Linked DNA regions of Homo sapiens: region 2 is linked to region 1. The links are contacts of gene promoters, found by promoter capture Hi-C in blood cells and fetal thymus (Javierre and others, 2016). All regions are on one chromosome and are shown on one strand. Each heading gives the region's core, a stretch centred on a gene start or on the middle of the fragment in contact. The rest is flanking DNA. Distances are from core to core; before and after follow the strand shown.

Region 1 (7,274 bases), core at 3,514-6,013:
GTAAGTTTCTTTATGTCTAAAATATTTCAGAACAATAAATGTTTCTATGACTAGTTCTGATTATAAAAATGATTTGTATCAATTTAGAAGTTGTGAAAAATATAGTTATGTCCAGAAATAAATATATAATTAATCAAGTAATCCTATTACTCATTAACTTAAAAAAAGAGTATTATGTTTGTATATTACCCCCATTATACTCTGTATGTATGCATCATAATGTACATTCATTGCATGTGAGTCTAATATATTGAGACATTCAAGATTTGCCAGACAGCATGAAATGAGTTATTAAATGATTCCAAGTTCAAACTAAACTCTGACTCTCAAGTCACCATCCCTAACCATTGGGATATACAATCTTTTTCTGAATAAGGGCTGTGTCCAGCTCAGGGAAAGTGTCTTCTAGACAAGGACAGGTCTGGCATTCAGTCCCCAGGTCTCCTGTTCAGTCTGTTGTACAGAATACTCATCTTTATGCTCTTTTATTCTGTACTGCCTCCTTTCTGGGGTTGAAACAAAGGTTTCTATTCCAGTGTCAAAATGGAAGGTAAAAAGGAATAGAAGAACACATCAAATAAAAAGTAACGAAGTGATTATTTGATCCCAAACTTCCACCATTCTCAGGTATCTCATCCACAAAGAAATGTCACCAAAGGTTCTATAACATATGAGTATGTTTGTTTCCTTTCCCAATGTTTCAAATTTAAATAATCTCTGTGGGATGTTCATGTTTAAGTCTTTTGAGGAAGGGAAAACAGAGGGGAGACCAAATATATATTTATTGAAGTATTATGTATCAGATGGTTTCTTTAGTTTTGCTCATTTCTCATAACACTCCTGTGAGGTAAATAGCAATATGCTAATTTTATTGATGAGCAAGGTAAGGTTCACTAAGTGTAACTCACTACCATACCATCATACAATAGAAAAGAGTGAGTACTCATCCCTCATCCCAACTTCATCACATTGCATAGCACAGAGATGGCACCTAACCTCCTACATAATATAGATGAGTGTGTGTGGTTCCCTTACATTCCCAAATACTCACTAAAATATAGTGATGCTATCCAGATTATGAAACAACATCCCTGTTAAAGATCAGAAGAGGTGAGATGGGAAGGAAGCAAACACTGGCACTGTGAATGACACACCAAATACCGTGCCAGCATCTTGACAAAGATCTCCCCTTGAACATGTCATAATGCTCTCTTGAGTGTAAGGATCAGGTGTATGTGTGTTTGTGGTGAAACATGCAAAACAATACTATGTTTTATTTAGGGAAGCTCTCATATGGAATAAAAGGATAAAGCAACATATGGGAATTATAATCATTGCTTTCTGGGTGCTGATTATCTATAGCAGAGACGGAAGGAGATACAATTAGGGAGGAGTAAAGGTTTTCCTAAGCTGGACTAATTTCATAGTTCTCTCTGTTTTTTATCTGAAACATTTCACAAGTAGCAGAGGTTTTAGGGGATATAGTTTTTATCATAAATACAGACATTCCCTGACTGTTGATGTTTTGACTTATAATTTTTCAATTTTATGATAGTGTGAAAGTGGTACACATTCAGTAGAAACTGTACTTCAAGTTTTAAATTTTGATATTTTCCTGGGCTAGCAAAACGCAGTATTATACTCTTGTGATGCTGGTTAGGGAGCAGCAGTGAGCCACAGCTCCCAGTCAGCCATGCAATCACGAGGATAAACTACTGAGACCCTATAGTGTACAGTGTTGCCAGGATTTTTTTGATATTGTATTTTCACATCTCATCTTGTCTACAAATGCCCATTTTTGACCTACAATTATTTTCAACTTACAATGAGTTTATCAGGATGTAACTCCCATAGTAAGTCAAGCATGGGGTATGGAGTATGTACAATCCATACTCTCACCTTAGCAAATGTTTAATATTGAGCCAAATGCAGAGGTTAAAAATATCAATAGCCAGCAATCCCATCATAATTAAAATTAACATGGTACTAGATCTTTCTAAGGATTTTTTATACATGGATATATGCACATGTACTGTACATGCATTACAAATACAATTCATAAAGCTGTTATAATTATATGTACAGTATAGCATCCTGGGTTTTTTGTTGTTATTTTCAGTTTTGCTTTTGTCTTAAGTACTAACATGTGGATGAAACATTCTAAGTACATGACAAGGTATAAGATATAATCTAACTTTGCTTTTTAATGAACCCTTTACAGCTGGCCCAGACCCAATTCCTTAACAATGCATTTGAGTAGAAATGCCATACTTGCAGCATCTTAAATGACGTTATATGCCAGGGTCTACTCAAGAGCTTTCTTTAGACTTCTTTAACCTGCATGTCAACCACTCTGTCCAAAACTTATGAAATTATACGCTCAAAGAACACTTTAATACCTGGCAAAGTAATCCCCACTTTTATCATTCAGTCTTTGTATGCATGATAGGAATAATAATAAAAGACATAAATAGTTACAGGGCACACGGTAGATAAATTGGTTGATACAGATCATGCAACCAGCAAGTAATGGTTATCAGGGTCAAATCCAAGTCCTTCTCACCCAAAAGCCCCCTCCCCTAACCACTATTTCTATACTGAGTATCCTTCTGTGTTAGACCAGAGGCCAACAGAGGGAAGAGACTCACCCCAAAAACCACAGTCAGTTGATGGGTCGAGTAACTAGGGTACAAATCTGATGACTCCTGTCTTCTGTCTAGCTGACTCATTATTATTCTTTGCTCTTCTGTACTATTTCTTCCTCCCATGGCTCAATAAGAACTCCTTCACCCACGTCACACTAGAAAGAAAATAAGAGAGCAGAGAGTACATGGAATCAAAGGAATGATAAGATAAAACCAACATTCATTTATTGCTACTATATTTCTAAATGCTCTCTGTTTCAAATCTTCTATTTCATAGGGCACAATTATTTTATCTTGGAACCAACAATCTTCGGAGAATGTATCCCAAAGATACAATTCAAAAAGATAAAAAGGCAGAAGCACAAGGTCATTCTTGGCAGAACAAATTGTAACAGCAGAAGACTGGAAATAAGACAGATGTCCACCAATAAAGGACTGACTGAATAATCTAAGGTGCATCTACATCCTAGATTTCAATGCCGGTATAACAAGCAAGGAAGATTCCCTCTCTCTGCTGCTATGTAGTGATTTCCAGGATATACCATTAAGTGAATAAAGCAAAGTGCAGAAAAATGTGTAGAGCTGCTGTTGTCCCATACCATACCCACTGGCCACTCATGGCTATTTAAGTTAACTAAATTTAAATGGAATTTTAAATTCACTTCCTCAGTCACACTCACCACATTTTAGGTGTTTAATAGTCACAGGTAGCTAGTGGCTACTATGTTGGACAGTTGAGACATAGAATATTTTCACCTTTGTAGAAATTCTATTGGACTCCACCAGTGTAGAATATGTCACCTTATATATATGGAATAGGAGAAAACTAATAGAAACATTCTATTTGCTTATATTTTTAAAATTGGAAAGTTTTAATGAAAATTGATTTAAAAAATCATTACCTATAAAGAGAAGGAAAAACAGCCCAGGACAGAAGCCAATAATGTCTTTTCCCTTAAAAATATAATATATATACACTGGCTCCATGCACTAGAAAGGTGAAGAAACATGATAGACCCAGTAGCAATGAGCAACTCTAGTGCCCATATTGAATCCACTTAAAACACATCACACTGAAAGGAACTAGGTTATCTTAGAGAAATGACTGAGTTTAGGTCTGTGTAGCCATTCTACTAGATGAATCTGGACCAAACTATCATGCCAGAGAGTGCGTCAAAAAGACTCAGAAGCCAAGCTTAAGGGGCTCTCGCTGGACAAAGATGAAGCAATTTGAACATTAAATAAAATAATGACTACTATGGATTAAAACACATTATAATATAAAAACTTCTACAGCTCATGATGACACTCTAAAAGAAAAATAAAATAAAACAAACAATATCAACTCATTGCTTGCCTTTGGAGAACCCTAGGGAAACAACTCATTGTTTTGAAAAGTGGAAATATTGCAAAAGAATTAGGCACTCATCCAACCCTTTCTATACATACTATCCCTCAGTGTAACCTAATGGTTTATGAAAGTTTATTTAATAGAATAATTCCAGCTAATAAAGCAGAGAAAATTATAGAATTAGAATATCATCCTTTTATGACCTTTAATGAATATAGAACTAAGCAACAATCCTTAGACGCTGCAGAAAAATCGAGGTGAAAAAGGGATGGGAAATTTTATAATGGATGGATCAGCTTAACAATACTTGAACATAGTAATTAATCTTAACATCACAAGAGGAGAGACAATTAGACACAATGAGCCCCCTGTGTAACACTATAGGAATAAACAATACCACATATGAAGTACTTCTGACCAAAACAAATCTAAATTGAATCAAGCCTCTGAATCTAACACCATTTTGTTAAATTTTTTTATTATACTTTTAAGTTCTGGGATACATGTGGAGAATGTACAGGTTTGTTACATAGGTATACACGTGCCATGGTGGTTTGCTGCACCCATCAACCCGTCATCTACATTAGTTATTTCTCCTAATGGTAATATAAAAAGAGAAAGAAATACTTGGAATTTGATTTGGAAAACCTTTCTCCTGTAGCCAGTCCACCTCCATGTGCTTGATACAGTTGACACTTCTTACCCTACAGGAGATTATTCAGCCTATCAGCCAATCTAGAAAATAAAATCATGAGGATCCATGTTTGGTGGTATAGGAACTATTAAGTTTATATTGGAACATTTTGCAAAACATGTTAAAATTAAGTTAAAATGAATGTGGCTCGAAATTAGGATTGTAAGATTTCGGATTTCAACTCAGTTTCCACAGAGAAGTTTGGTTGACCTAAATTTTAAATATGTTAGGAATAAGCCCCTGCTGCACATCATTATATTCAAAGTTCTCTGTAGCTTCATTTGTGAAAACAAATGGATGAATGGGTATATATTTGTAAAACATGTCTTTGGGATAAAAAGGCATTTTGAGTTCTTGGTTTTCAGGATGTTCCTTCTGGTATTCTTCAAATAAATGCTTCTATAGTATTATAAAGATAATTTCATTAACCTGCTAAAATGGGAATGTATTTGTCTATAGCTACAAGGTAAAAAGTGTTATGAATAATAATTTTAAGATGACAGATATTAAATAGTTCAAATATTATTGATAATAAGATTTTTTTAAAAAAGAAAATATATGTTCATCCAAAAGAATGAACATGAACATTCATAACACCATTATTCATGAGATGTCAAAAACTGGAAAATACACAAATCTCCATCACAGATAAATATAGTGTGAAATATCCAAATAATATAATACTTTACACCAATGAGAATAAGCAATCTACAATATAGACCACAATAAATATTAATTTCACATACATTATGTTGACTGAAAGAAGCAAGACACAAAAGAGCACATGCTGTATGATTCCAAGAATTTCTCTTCTAACCTCCCAATAGAGATTGGGGCAGGAGAGGAATATCAACAACTCATTTCCTTTTATTTCAAGGTACTTAGTGTCTTTTTATGTTATCTGTAGCTTAACCTCAGATAAGTGAAGCAACTTTCTTCTGAGCCCTTGAAAAGTGATTAATTACACATAAGATGAAAAGCTAATACTATATCTGATGGACAGGCAATGTGGTGTGAGAGATTCGGGCAAGAATCCTAAATGGATGCTCAGTCTGCACCAAATCACACCGCAGTCACTGAGTCACCATGGTAACCATTCTGGCCAAGGAAAGCTGAGAAAAAACAAACACCACTATCCCGAGCTTGTTCCTAATATGTACTAGGAACTAAATAGGATTGACATGATGCACAGTAATTAACCTCAAGTAGTCCTTACAATAAAAATTCCTGACAGCTTCAGTGACATACAAATGTATACATACTCACATACATATATGCTTGCTCACCCTCTCACCACTCCAAATTCCAAGAATTTATTGAGGTTGATTTACTGGTGGGTAAAGAAGTAAATCTCGCCAGGCATGGTGGCTCGTGGCTATAATCCCAGCTACTCAGATGGCTGAGGTAGGAGGATTGCTTGAGGTTAGGAGTGTGAGAGAAGTCTAAACAACATAGCAAAACTCTGTCTCTGAAAAATGTTTTTAAGTTTAGCTGAGCATGGGGGCACACACCTGTAGTCAGTTATTCAGGAGGCTGAGGTGAGAGGATTGCTTGAGCCTGGGAGTTCAAGGCTGCAGTGAGCTATGATTGCACCATTGCACTCCAGCCTGAGCCACACATTGCAACAAAATCATTTCTGACCACACATATAAAGTTGAAAGCTACTAAACTATGTTCTTTTGGTGTGATTTCTGAAGATGACCTGTAGAATTGTCTCTGGAACATTTTCCTCCATAGTTTCAATATATCGCCAATGACTTGTAAAAGCAGATACGGAAATACAGGTAAACACAGGTTAAGGATCAAATACCTTTTCCATCCTAGAGTAAGCTGTGCTTTCAACCAAAAAAATGCCTCACTGATGTTAAACACTTGGTTGCTGATAGTACTGTGAAAATATAGTAATTAGCAATTGTGTTTAACAAACAAAGCCATGTATAGCATCATCAAGAGTATGAAATATTTATGAACAATCTGTCCACAGATGTGCAGTGCCTGTACACTGAACACCACACATCATTGCTGAGAGAATTAAAGACCTAAATAAGTGGAGGACTTACCATGCTCATGGGTCACAAACAATACTGAGAAGATTCAGTATTGTTAAGATGTCAATTCTTCCAAAACTGATCTATAGATTCAGAGCAATTCAAATGGAAATCCTATTAAAAAATTTTTAAAGAAACCGACAGGCTGATTCTAACATTCATATGGACATGTAAAAGACCTAGACTCTATTAGTCTGTTCCCATATTGCTAAAAACAAACACATGAAACTGGGTGATTTATTTTAAAAAAGGGGTTTTCATGGCTTACGGTTCTGCAGGCTATATAGGAACCATAGAGGCATCTGCTTCTGGAGAGGCCTCAGGGAGCTTTAACTCATGGCGAAAGGTAAAGCGGAAGCAGGCGTTTTACATGGCAGGGAAGGTGCTACACACTTGTAAACAACCAGATCTTATGAGAATTCTATTATGAGAACAGAACCAAAGGGAGAAATCCACTCTCACGATCCAATCACCTCCCACCAGTCCTCATATCCAACATTGGGGATTACAATTTGACATGAGATTTGGGTAGGGAC
Region 2 (6,751 bases), core at 763-3,262, 240 kb after region 1:
GGGATTATGGAGATTACAATTCAAGGTGAGATTTGGATGGGGACACAGAGCCAAACCATATCAGGTAGTTATAGCTTCACTTGGGACTTTGACATTTGTCTGGGATAGGATGAGGATGGAGCATGGACTAGTTCCTGAGGGTGAGATTAGGGAAAATGCTGCCAAGAAGACACTGGCCAGGAGGGAGCCGGATGCTAGTAACTGAGACAAGAAGCCTGCCAACTCAAGCCAGACCTTGGGCTATTGGAATGTGGGAAGGAATTAAAGAACGAAGATAACAGCAATATCTATTGGATTTGATAAGGATTAATGCAAGTGAAGCACTTAGTACAGAGCCTAGCACACAGTAAGTACTTAACTAATGGCATCAAGCTGCAAACTCTATCATCTCTGTCTTTTAGAGGCCATAATGCATGTTAGCATAGTGGAGGTTTTGTAAAGTCTCCCAAGTAGCTGAGACTACAGGCGTATGCCACCACGCCTGGCTAGTTTTTGCATATTTAGTAGAGACGGGGTTTCTTCAGGTTGGTCAGGCTGGTCTTGAACTCCCGACCTCAGGTGATCTGCCCACTTTGGCCTTCCAAAGTACTGGGATTACAGGCATGAGCCACTGTGCCCGGCCAAAAAAAAATCATTATTTTTTTTTTTCCTTGAGACGGAGTCTCGCTCTGTAACCAAGGCTGGAGTGCAGTGGTGTGATCTCGGCTCACTGCAAGCTCCGCCTCCTGGGTTCACGCTATTCTCCTGCCTTAGCCTCCAGAGTAGCTGGGACTACAGGCGCCTGCCACCATGCCCGGCTAATTTTTTTTGTATTTTTTAGTAGAGACGGGGTTTCACCGTGTTAACCAGAATGGTCTTGATCTCCTGACCTTGTGATCCGCCCCCCTCAGCCTCCCAAAGTGCTGGGATTACAGGCGTTGAGCCACCGCGCCCTGCCGAAAAAAAATTTTTTTTAAGAGTCAGTGTCTCACTCTATTGCCCAGGTGACAGTGCAGTGGCATGCTCCTAGCTCATGGCAGTTTTAAACTCCTGGGATCAAGCAGTCCTGCTTCAGACTCTTCAAGTAGCTAGGACTAGAAGTGCGTACCACCATGCCTGGCTACAGAGACACTAAAACAAACAAACAAACAAACAAACAAAACAAAACAAAAACAAAAAACTTTGGTTAACCCAGGCTTCCCCAAATATATTTGCCTGCAGATTTTTTTTTTTTTTTTTTTTTTTTTTTTTTTTTTTTTTTTAACATTAGACCTTTCACCATCCAGTGGAGATGACAATCTCTGGTCATGCTTTGGGAAACTCCACTCTCCTTCCAGTGAGGGGCTCTAGTAACATTTGTCACTGCCTTAAAAATGTTTCAATTTGATGTCAATTAATACTTTTTTTTTTTTTTTTTTGAGACAAGGTCTGTCTCTGTTGCCCAGGCTGGAGTGCAGTGGCATGATCTCAGCTCACTGCAACCTACACCTCCTGGGCGCAAGCCATCCTCCCCCTTAGCCTCCCGAGTAGCTGGGACTACAGGTACGCACCATCATACCTGGCAAATTTTTGTATTTTTTGTAGAGACAGGGTTTTGCCATGTTGCCCAGGCTGGTCTTGAACTTGTGAGCTCAAGCAATCCACCCACCTTGGCCTCCCAAAGTGCTGGGATTACAGGCATGAACCACTGGGCCTGGCAATACTTTCTTTCCTATTCATTAGCTCCTATTTGGAGAAGAAGTTGAGGGAGGTTCTCTTTAAAAATAGAGACTGTATCATCAGGGCTGCTGGGGAAAGGGAAAGAGACATTGTATCTTTGTTGGAATTTGGGCTTTCTAAGAGGAGGAGTAGAAACTATGCTGGTGGTTATGGTGGTTGTGGGATGAACAACAGGATGGATGTCCAGATGGACCAAGTCAGCCCTCTATTGTAATTCCTGGATGAAAGCTTGAAGGACCTAATCTCAAGAACACCAATGATCCTACTGTCCTCCTATATATATGAACAGAGATGGGAGGATGTTCTCTGGTTATTTAATAAAGGCCAGCCACAAACAAGGCACCATACTAGGTTTCATGCGCGTCCATGTGAAATCACCAAACAGGCTTTGTGTGAGCAATAAAGCTTTTTAATCACCTGGGTGCAGGCAGGCTGAATCCGAAAAGAGTCAGATAAGGGAGATAGGGGTGGGGCTGTTTTATAGGATTTTGGTAGGTAGTGGAAAATTACAGTCAAAGGGGGTTGTTCTCTGGCTGGCTGGGGTGGGGGTCACAAGGTGCTCAGTGGGGGAGCTTTTGAGTCAGGATGAGCCAGGAGAAGGAATTTCACAAGGTAATGTCACCAGTTAAGGCAGGAACTGGCCATTTTCACTTCTTTTGTGATTCTTTACTTGCTTCAGGCCATCTGGATGTATATATGCAGGCTTGGGCTCAGAGATCTGACATTCCTGTCTTCTTATATTGATAAGAAAAATAAAATAAAATAGTGTTGAAGTGTTGGGGCAGCAATAACTTTTGGGGGGTGGTATGGAGATATAATGGGCGATGTTTCTCAGGGCTGCTTCAAGCGGGATTAGGGGAGGCGTGGGAACCTAGAGTGGGAGAGATTAAGCTGAAGGAAGATTTTGTGATAAGGGGTGATATTGTGGGGTTGTTAGAAGAAACACTTGTTGTATAGAATGATTGGTGATGGCCTGGGTGCGGTTTTGTATGAATTGAAAAACTAAACGGAAGACACAAGGTCCGAATAAGAGGAGAAAAACAGGTATTAAAGGACTAACAATTGGGAGGACCCAGGACATCCAATTAGAGAGTGCCCAAGGAGGTTCAGCATAGCCCTGCCAGTAAAGATTATTTATTTACTTTAAGAGGGAGTTAAGAGTGGTGGGCGGTTTGGGGATAGCACCAGGAGATATCAGCTGTGATGGCTTGGAGAAACAGTGTAAACCGGCAGTGTAAACAAGAGCAGGGCATGTATGAGTAGTTGAGAACGGTGAATAGGATTATGACTAGACAGAAGATAGTAGGGATGACAAGTTTTTGGGGCACAGCCCAAGTTGGGCTGGTGTCTGGAATGAGACGGGGGCCTAATAAAAAGGAGTGTCTATACAGGAGCTCAAATGGGCTGTAACCTGTAGCATTCCGAGGACAGGCCCGAATTTTGAGAAGGGAAAGTGGTAAAAGTATTGTCTAGTCATTTTTTAGTTGGTGGCTGAGCTTGGTGAGGTGCGTTTTTAAAAGACCATTAGTCCATTCTACCTTTTCTGAAGATTGAGGATGGTAAGAGGTATGAGGGTTTCACTGAATACCAAGAGCCTGAGAAACTGCTTGGGTGATTTAACTAGTAAAGGCCGGTCCGTTATTGGACTGTATAGAGGTGGGAAGGCCAAACCAAGGAATTATGTCTTACAGAAAGGAAGAAATGACCGCAGTAGCCTTTTCAGACCCTGTGGGAAAGGCCTCTACCCACCCAGACCAAGAGGTATTTTAGTTTCCTGACTCGAGGCATGTGAGTAAAGTCAATTTGCCAGTCCTGGGCAGGGGCAAATCCCCGAGCTTGATGTGTAGGGAAGGGAGGGGGCCTGAACAATCCCTGAGGAGTAGTAGAATAGCAGATGGAACACTGAGAAGTGATTTCCTTGAGGATAGATTTCCACGGTGGAAAGGAAATGAGAGGTTCTAAGAGGCGGGCTAGTGGCTTGTAACCTACATGGAAGAGGCTATGAAATGACGACAGAATAGAATCGGCCTGTGAGGCTGGAAGGAGATATTTTCTTTTTTTTTCTTTTTGTTTTTTTTTTTTTAAATAAGAGAGATTTTATTTTATTTATTTATTTTTTTGAGACAGAGTCTTGCTCCTGTAACCCATGCTGGAGTGCAGTGGCATGATCTTGGCTCACTGCAACCTCAGCCTACTGAGTTCAAGGGATTCTCCTGTCTCAGCCTCCTGAGTAGCTGGGATTACAGGCACCCACCAGGAAGGAGATATTTTCCTTGGTTCAAGAACCATTTGCCTTGTGTGGGAAGAGATTGATAGGTGGAAGTTTCAGTAGGGGAGTAGGTAGGAGTGACCGATGAGAAGGAGAAAAACTGGCCTTGAGGGACGAAGTTGTACTCTAGCTGCTTTTTTAGCTACCTTATCAGCATAAGCGTTGCCCTGAGCGATGGGATCTGACGCCTTTTGACGGCCCTTGCAGTGAATGACTCCAGCTTCCTTTGGAAGTAAAGCAGCCTTGAGAAGAGTTTTTATTAAAGAGGAATTAATGATGGAGGACCCTTGCGTAGTGAGGAAACCTCTTTCTGCCCTTATAACAGCATGGTGGTGCAGAATATAGAAGGCATATTTAGAGTCAGTATAAATATTGATGCGTAGTCCTTTTGCAAGAGTGAGGGCTCTAGTTAAGGCAATGAGTTCGGCTTGCTGAGAGGTAGTGGAGGGGGGCAGAAAGTATGTGCATCTGGTGTGAGGAAGAAAATAGATTTTGGAAGTTATGAGAACTGTAGAGAGTGAGTTGAGCACAGTTTGTGATTTTGAGGGCCTCTAAAAGTATTAAAACAGAGGCAGCTGCCGCATGCAGACATGAGGGCTAGGCTAAAACAGTAAGCTCAAGTTGTTTGGATAAAAAGGCCACAGGGAGCGGTCCCAGTCCTTGTGTAAGAATTTCGACCACACAGCCCTGCACTTCGGCTGTGTGTAATGAAAAAGGGTTGGGATGAGTCAGGGAGAGCTAGTGTGGAAGCATTCTCTAATGCTGTCTTCAAGGAACGGAAAGAGGAGTGGGAAAAGGATTTAGGATCTATGGCATCAGCTAGGTTTTCTTTTGTGAGTTTACATAATGGTTTTGTTAGGATGGCAAAACCAGGTATCCAAAGGTAAAAGTATCCAACCATGCCCAGGAAGGAAAGGAGTTGTTGTTTTGTAGAAGGGGTTGGGGTTTGAGAGATCAGTTGGACAGGATCGGCAGGGAGAGCACCTGTGTTTTTATGAAGAATTATGCCGAGATAGGTAACAGATTAAGAAATTCGGGCTTGACTGAAGTAATGGGGGCTGTCTGTGAAGCCTTGTGGCAGTACAGCCCAGGTAATTTGCCGAGCCTGATGGTGTCAGGGTCAGTCCAAGTGAAAGCGAAGACAGGCTGGGATGAAGGGTGCAAAGGAATAGTAAAGAAAGCATGTTTGCCACACAGAACAGAATAATGGGTTGTGGAGGGAGGTATTGAGGATAGGAGAGTATATGGGTTTGGCACCATGGGGTGGATAGGCAAGATAATTTGGTTGATAAGGTGCAGATCCTGAACTAACCTGTAAGACTTGTCTGGTTTTTGGATAGGTAAAATGGGGGGATTGTAAGGAGAGTTTATAGGCTTTAAAAGGCCACACTGTAACAGGCAAGTGATAACAGGCTTTACTCCTTTTAAAGGCTGCTGTGGGATGGGATATTGGCGTTGAGTTGGGTAAGGGTGATTAGGTTTTAATGGAATGATAAGGGGTGCATGATCGGTCACCATGGATGGAGTAGAGGTGTCCTATACTTGTGGATTAAGGTGGTGAGATACAAGGGGAGGATGTGAAGGAGTGTTTGAACTGGGGAAAAGGGTGGCAATGAGGTGTGGCTGTAGCCTAGGAATAGTCAGGGAAGCAGATAATTTAGTTAAAATGTCTCAGCCTAATAAGGGAACTGGGCAGGTGGGGATAACTAAAAAGGAGTGCATAAAAGAATATTGTCCAAGTTGGCACCAGAGTTGGGGAGTTTTAAGAGGTTTAGAAGCCTGGCCATCAATAACCATAACAGTCATGGGGCAAGGGAAATAGGCCCTTGAAAAGAAGGTAATGTGGAGTGGGTAGCCTCCGTATTGATTAAGAAGGGGACGGACTTACCCTCCACTGTAAGAGTTACCCAAAGCGTATGTGATGGTCCAGGAAGCTTCTGAGGTGATTGGGCAGCATCAATCTTCAGCCGCTAAGCTGAGATGATCTGGGAAGGAGTCAGTCAGAGAGCGTTGGGCCAGAGTTCCAGTGGCTCTGGGAGTGGCTGCCGGGTGAGTTGGAGAGTCCAATTTCCAGTGGGTACCTGCACAGATGGGGCACAGCTTAGGAGGAATCCTGGGCTGTGGGCATTCCTTGGCCCAGTGGCCAGATTTCCAGCACTTGAAGCAAGTTCCTGGTGGAGGTGGTCCTGGAGGAATGCCTGGCCACTGCGGTTTATGTGTTTGGAAGTTCCTGTGTGCTGGAGATGTGGCTGGGGTTTCTCCCACACTGGAGGCAAGGAATTGCAACTCAGAAATATGTTGCTACTTGGCTGCCTCTACTCTATTATTGTACACCTTGAAGGTGAGGTTAATTAAGTCCTGTTGTGGGGTTTGAGGGCTGGAATTTAATTTTTGGAGTTTTATTTAATGTTGGGAGCGGATTGGGTAATAACATGTATATTGAGAATAAGACGGCCCTTGACCTTTTAGGGTCTAGGGCTGTAAAGCGTCTCAGGGTTGCTGCCAGATGAGCCATGAACTGGGCTGGGTTTTTATATTTGATGAAAAAGAGCCTAAACGCTAACTGATTTTGGAGAGGTTGGATAAAGAAAAAGGAGCATTAACCTTGACTATGCCTGTAGTTCCAGCTACCATTTTAAGAGGAAATTGCTGGGCTGGTGGGGGAGGGCACATAACGAAACTGTAAGCTGGACTGGGTGTGAGGAGGGGAGGTGATCAAAAGATTATAGAGTGGGGGAGCAGAGCTGAGGAAGAATTGGGACCTGGCTTGGCCTGGTGAGGAGC

What was found. The method cuts DNA at HindIII sites, captures the fragments that hold promoters and counts their contacts. A CHiCAGO score of 5 or more calls a contact.
Region 2: a fragment that was not itself captured here is called in contact with the fragment with the promoter of RAB40A in region 1 in 1 of 17 cell types (total B cells); the score reaches 6.1 in total B cells.

The regions. Positions count from the first base shown.
Region 1 is chrX:103,514,726-103,521,999 of GRCh38, forward strand. It overlaps RAB40A (RAB40A, member RAS oncogene family), which reads right to left and starts at 4,764. Exons shown (of 3, transcript NM_080879.3): 1 at 4,645-4,764; 2 at 2,649-2,800. It overlaps LL0XNC01-250H12.3 (a long non-coding RNA gene), which reads left to right. Exons shown (of 6, transcript NR_188440.1): 6 at 2,923-3,218. The HindIII fragment of the contact is 4,467 bases long and covers 3,839-7,274 here.
Region 2 is chrX:103,759,107-103,765,857 of GRCh38, forward strand. No RefSeq gene overlaps it. Among named protein-coding and RNA genes, the nearest start is that of PLP1, 14 kb to the right of the region's middle. The HindIII fragment of the contact is 177 bases long and covers 1,925-2,101 here.